Regions from separate parts of the Homo sapiens genome. Here region 2 is linked to region 1. The links are contacts of gene promoters, found by promoter capture Hi-C in blood cells and fetal thymus (Javierre and others, 2016). All regions are on one chromosome and are shown on one strand. Each heading gives the region's core, a stretch centred on a gene start or on the middle of the fragment in contact. The rest is flanking DNA. Distances are from core to core; before and after follow the strand shown. Region 1 holds the start of TMEM72 (transmembrane protein 72). Region 2 has its middle 6.3 kb from the start of ZNF22.

Evidence for each region. The method cuts DNA at HindIII sites, captures the fragments that hold promoters and counts their contacts. A CHiCAGO score of 5 or more calls a contact.
Region 2: a contact is called between a fragment that was not itself captured here and the fragment with the promoter of TMEM72 in region 1, in 1 of 17 cell types (neutrophils). The highest score is 6.1, in neutrophils.

What each region holds. Positions count from the first base shown.
Region 1 is chr10:44,909,953-44,912,660 of GRCh38, reverse strand. It overlaps TMEM72 (transmembrane protein 72), which reads right to left and starts at 1,324. Exons shown (of 5, transcript NM_001123376.3): 1 at 1,079-1,324. The coding sequence starts at 1,148. All of the region lies in intron 2 of TMEM72-AS1 (TMEM72 antisense RNA 1), which reads left to right. The HindIII fragment of the contact is 1,552 bases long and covers 175-1,726 here.
Region 2 is chr10:45,005,891-45,008,598 of GRCh38, reverse strand. No RefSeq gene overlaps it. Among named protein-coding and RNA genes, the nearest start is that of ZNF22, 6.3 kb to the right of the region's middle. The HindIII fragment of the contact is 1,154 bases long and covers 820-1,973 here.

The sequences.
Region 1 (2,708 bases), core at 75-2,574:
CCAAACACCTGGCCAGCAGGTCCCCATCATACAGATCAGAAAGTGCAGCCTCAGAGGGGTCAGGGGCTCCCCAAGGTCATATATCACGCAAGTGACTAGGCTGGGGCAGGAACAAGCACTATGTGATTTTGACCTAGGAGAACTTTCCCATTTGGTAAGACCCGTGGGTAAGCTTTTGCCCAGTGGTGGGGAAGGGCTTTGATAGGGGGTGTGTCTCTCTTTGTCCCCAAGGGACAATGTGGCTCAGAGTTAAGGGCTCAGAATTCTGCCTGTTCATTTCCCCAAAACAGATCCTGGCTCTGTAGGGGGAATGGGGCTAAGGGTCAGGCCTGCCCTGGGGAAGCGAGCAGGCAGGGCTCAGGATGGTGGCTCTGGGCTCTGCTCTAACAGTCTGCCCTCCTGTCCAGTTGAGCAGCCCTGTGATTCTGCTGGGTGAAGGAAGGAGCCCAGCATCTCTGGGAAGCATCTCTGCTGCTAAGACCACAGTGCATTCCTGCAGTCAGACCTCAGACAGGGGTCTGGGTTCCTACAGGGTGTTCTGTTAACAGGGTCCAGCATGGGCCCGAGGGAAGCCTGTGATCTCCACGTCCAGCCAGGCTCAGCCTGTCCCTCCAGGGCAGAGCTGCTCATGACTGGGAGTTCTCTCTCCATGAGGTAGGGCTATGGTTTGAGTAAAGCAGGATGAGCTCAGTTGACCTTTTGTAGATACACAGCGAAGCCCAGCCCTTTCTATCTTCACCTTCTGTCTCCACCTCCATCTCATGACAACTCTCTGCGTAGGTGGGGTGGCCCCTGGAATCATTTTGCAGATGAGGATCTTGAGGCTTCCCAAGGTCACAGGGAGGGTGACTTGCCAAGCAAAGATCCAGCACCCAGCCCTCTGGTCCCCAGCCCTAGGCTCACCCCACTGCACTTGCTGCTGCTCTACAGAGCAGTGTTTCTAGGGGTCTTGGGAAAAAAATTGAAGCACAGAAGTGGCCAGATGTGCCTGCTGTCTCCTGGCCACCTCCCACCCCTCAGGCAGCCCTATCTGTGGTGCCAGTGTGCAAGGATCAGCAGCCAGGAGGCAGGGTCTTACCTGCAGCAGTGGTGATGCCCAGGAGCCGGCAGGTGTATTCCAGCCCAGTCCAGAACACCTGGAGCTGCATGGTGCCAGGGGTGAGGACAAAGTCCTGGCAGGGCAGGCAGCAAAGTCTTCGGCCCTGAGATGCTCCCGAACACCCTTGTGTAGGTAGGAGGCTGCTGGCTGTGGCTGCACACCGGGGCCCTGCCTTCCCAAACCAGTCCTGGCCACCGCAGCCTGGCCGAGGTGTGAATAGGGCTCACCTTCTGTGCTCTCAGCCCGTGCCCTTGCCAGGCACTCAGCTTAATCATTACCTTGGAAGAATGCTCCTGCTGCTCACACAACCCCAGCCTGGGCTGGAGCCGCTCAGCCCCAGCGCAGCCCAGCCGCCTGAGATCGGCGATTAGGGCTGGGCTGGAGGCAGTCTGGAGCTGGCAATTAACCGTTTCTGGCTGGGAGGAGGGAGCCAAGGAGTGGGCCAGGCCCTTCCTCACCAAGCCATGCCTAGAAAGTCACACCTGGATTTCACACTTGCTGGGGGCCTGTAGTGTCTGGCTCTGGAGGGGACAGTGCTCTTGCAGGTCTGTGCTTATGTGCATATGGGAGAGAGGAGTGTGTCTTTAAATCACCAGTAGAAACAACTTTTGAAATGAGTTCCAAGCTTTATTCTTCTGCGTATAGGTGGATTAGAAAGCTTTTCAAATCTGTCCCGGATTTGGACTCTGACTAGACATACTTAGCTCAGGCCCCGCCACGCAGAGGCCTTCCTTCCTCATTAACATGCATCCCAACATGGGACGTGGGAAATCATTTTGATTCTTTGTTTTGCGAGGGGAGTTGCTATGTCAATAATTAACCGGGTGACCTTGGGGAAACCCAAAGGCATCTGTGAGCCTTGGTAACTTTTGCAGAAAATAAATGTGAAGTTTTGGCTGAATTGGTGTTTTTGATGTACTTGGAGTGTCCCTGTAGCTGTTTCAAGGAGCCCAGCCTTTACACTTGGACAGTGGTGGGCTTTCCCTCATTCTTAATTTACTAACGGATGTGCTAGATTGAATGGTATTAAGATTTATCTCTCAGGTGTTTTTCTGAAATCTTTTACCCCTTTGCTCATATAAGATAGAAAACAAAACAACCAAATAAGGAAAAAAACTCCAAGCAAACCCAATACACATGCTCCTCAACTTATGATGGGGTTATGTCCCAAAAAACCCATCAGACATTGAAAATATTTTAAGTTAAAAATGCACTTAATCCAACCAACCTACTGAACATCAGAGCTTAGCCTGGCCTACTTAAATGTGCTCAGAACACTTAGTTTATGGTTGGGCAAAATCATCTAACACAAGGTTTATGTTATAAAGTGTGGAGTAGCTCATGTAAGAATATATTGTAGGGCATGTTGCTAGCCCAGGAAAACATCAAAATCCAAAATTTAAAGTACAATTTCTACTGAATGTACATCATTTTCACACCATCCTAAGTTGAACCATGGAAAGCCAAGGTCTGCCAATAATAACGGAAAACTCAAGAACAATTAGTTTGGCCCTTCCCTCCCCTCCCTTCCCCTCCCCTCCCTCCCCTTCTCCTTCCCCTTCCCCTTCCTTTCTTTCCTCTTTTCTTTTTTTTTTTTTTTTTGAGACAA
Region 2 (2,708 bases), core at 147-2,646, 96 kb before region 1:
GACGCAAGCTGACTTCTGAAAATGACGTATGGTACTACAGCACAAGCAAAGGTCATGAGAGCATCATAAAAAGCCTATTATTGAACAAATACATGACACTACATTGGAGCCAGATGCCTTAGTGGGAAATGAGTTTTTTCTATAAAAATGTGCAGCCATGTGTATACGTTGTTTCATATTGTTGGTACTGTATCTTTGGAAACAAACTCTGGAAATATAATTTCTGGATCAGAGAGTAAATGCATATATACTTCTGCTAGATATTGCCAAATCCCTCCTCAGTATGGGTTGTAACATTTTGTATCCCACCATCAGCCTTAGTTTGGCTGGTTCTCCACAGCCTTACCAACAGAGTAGGTTTTACACTTTTGATACATAAGAAATAGTAGCTCCTTGTAGTTTTATTTCTCTTATTATTGTCCTTTCAGCCAAAGTCTAGCCACAAAAAGAGAAACCAGACCAATTATTCTAATAGAGAAAATGGAATACAGATGCTGGGTTAAACTGAAGTGGTGAACTTATCAGGCAAAGAAGAAACATGGACATAACAGAAAGTCTAACTAGCTATATTAAACTATGTGGAATACACAGAATGGACTCAGTTTTCTCACTGAACCTGAACTTCTCTTCATGACTGTTTGCCCCTGAATCATCATATTGTCCCCTCTTTGACTCACCTGCTTAAATTCTGATATTTAGCCTTTTAATCCCACTGAATAGAGAGGCTTCTTGTATCCTAGGGGACCCATTTAGATTGCCCTGAACATAGAGATATAACCAGGTTCTCTCTGGGATTTAAGGTTACTCATCTCAGAAGCTTCATTTAAATTGGCATACCCATCCTGAATTCCTGAATTCAAAAAATCTGTGCCTGAGATGTCTCTTGACAAATTGGGAGGTAGCATAACACATTAGTAACCTGGTGTTATGAACTTGGCACAGTTCCTGAAATGCTCTACGACGTAATCGACATTTATGACAAAGATAACATACAAAGAAACTTACAACTATGTCAGTTGATGTATATTGACGTAAAAGTTCTAAATAAAATACTGTCAGATATTATAACACCAGAATTATAAAATGCCATTACTTAGTAGGACTAAGTTGCTCAATCTATTCTGATACATTACCAACCATGTGGATCAAAGGAAAAAAATTATCATCCATAAAAAGACTATGAAAGATTTGTTCTTTCTATATTTAAATGCAATGATTCTAAGCAATAGAGCTATTTGTGCTTGGATTTACTGTAAGGAATGCAGCTATGAATTATGTTTCTGTCATTTTTGTCTCTTTCCATCACTCAGCAGTAAAATTTATCCATTTCAAACTGTTCTGGATTAATTTGCACCTCTTCTGAACAATAAAACAAGAAAAAAGTAATTCTTTCACCAGATGTCACAATGCTTTATTTGAAAAATGACAGAAAAGAATCTCTTAGTTATCAGTTTACTACAGAACTCTGAATTTAGGAAACAGCCATTATACTTATCCCTAAATGAGACTAAAATAGGCAGTCCCCCTATTTTACCAGTGTGGTGAGAAATCCTACTTTGGAGTCCCCTCAACATATCTAGGGTTACATTACAATCTAGCGCTTCATGTGGACCAGGAAATTGGAGGAAGGTCCTCTGGTCTTCAGTTCATCATGACTGCAATTGGGAAGTTCAATTGTCCAAGCTGGTTGGTCTGTTTGAAATCAATGTGCAACAGGGACCAGGCTCTTGCTCTTGGAGGTGAGTCCTCCTGGCACCCACTCAGCATCCTCTCATGGGTCCTGTCACACTCAGACTCTGCATGGTGGAGGGACAGTCACCCCTTTCTCCCATGTTTGAAGACACATATCAGTCTCAGGACAGATTTTCAACTTCCAGGGCTGATATCACAGGACATTCTAGCAACTCTGTGTGTGGGGACTTTCAACCCAGGCCAGAGAGTCATGGGATACAAATAAAACACACAAACAAGCTTTAATGCTGCCTTTAAGTCTCAGTAAGGAACAAAGAGAAGGGTCCCAGGACAAAAAAAAAAAAAAAAAAAAAAAAAAAAAAGGAAGTATGGAAGTATGGAAGTATTACAGAGTATCGGCTAGAAACAGAAAGACAATGTGGGGGAGGCGAGGCAGTGTTTCTCAATATGAACTCAAAAAGCTGTTTTTTCTCATCAGGCCACTAAAAGGATAGAACTTTTAAGACTGATGATTGGCTCCAGAGATGCACAAAAAAAGCAGGATGGGTGCATCAATCAGGACAGGTACCAAATCTACACTGAAATCTGTGGCCTATCTCAACAGTTTATTTCTCACTCATGGGATACCTAAAGCAGGTTGGCAAGAGACTCAGGAACTACCTAAATGTCAGCTCCACTTTGGCCTGGGAAATAGGAGCACAGAGAATCACCCAACAGCTTTTAAAAACATCACTAACTCAAATGGGCAGACCTAGTGTTGTTTCTCACAGCACTGTAAGGGTGCCAGGAAACGTGGGGTATTTGGGTATTTGCTCACCAAATATCCCTCTTTCCTCCTTCCACACACAACATACCTTCTACCCAAGGAAGACAACCCCAAATCCCATAGTCACTACACTCTGAAAACCCTGGGACATCTCTAGATCAAGGCTGGCTCCATCTATCTCCCACTGGTCCAGAGCTGTATTAACCAAAAACATCCCTCATCTGTGCTCCTCTCCACATACCCCAACACA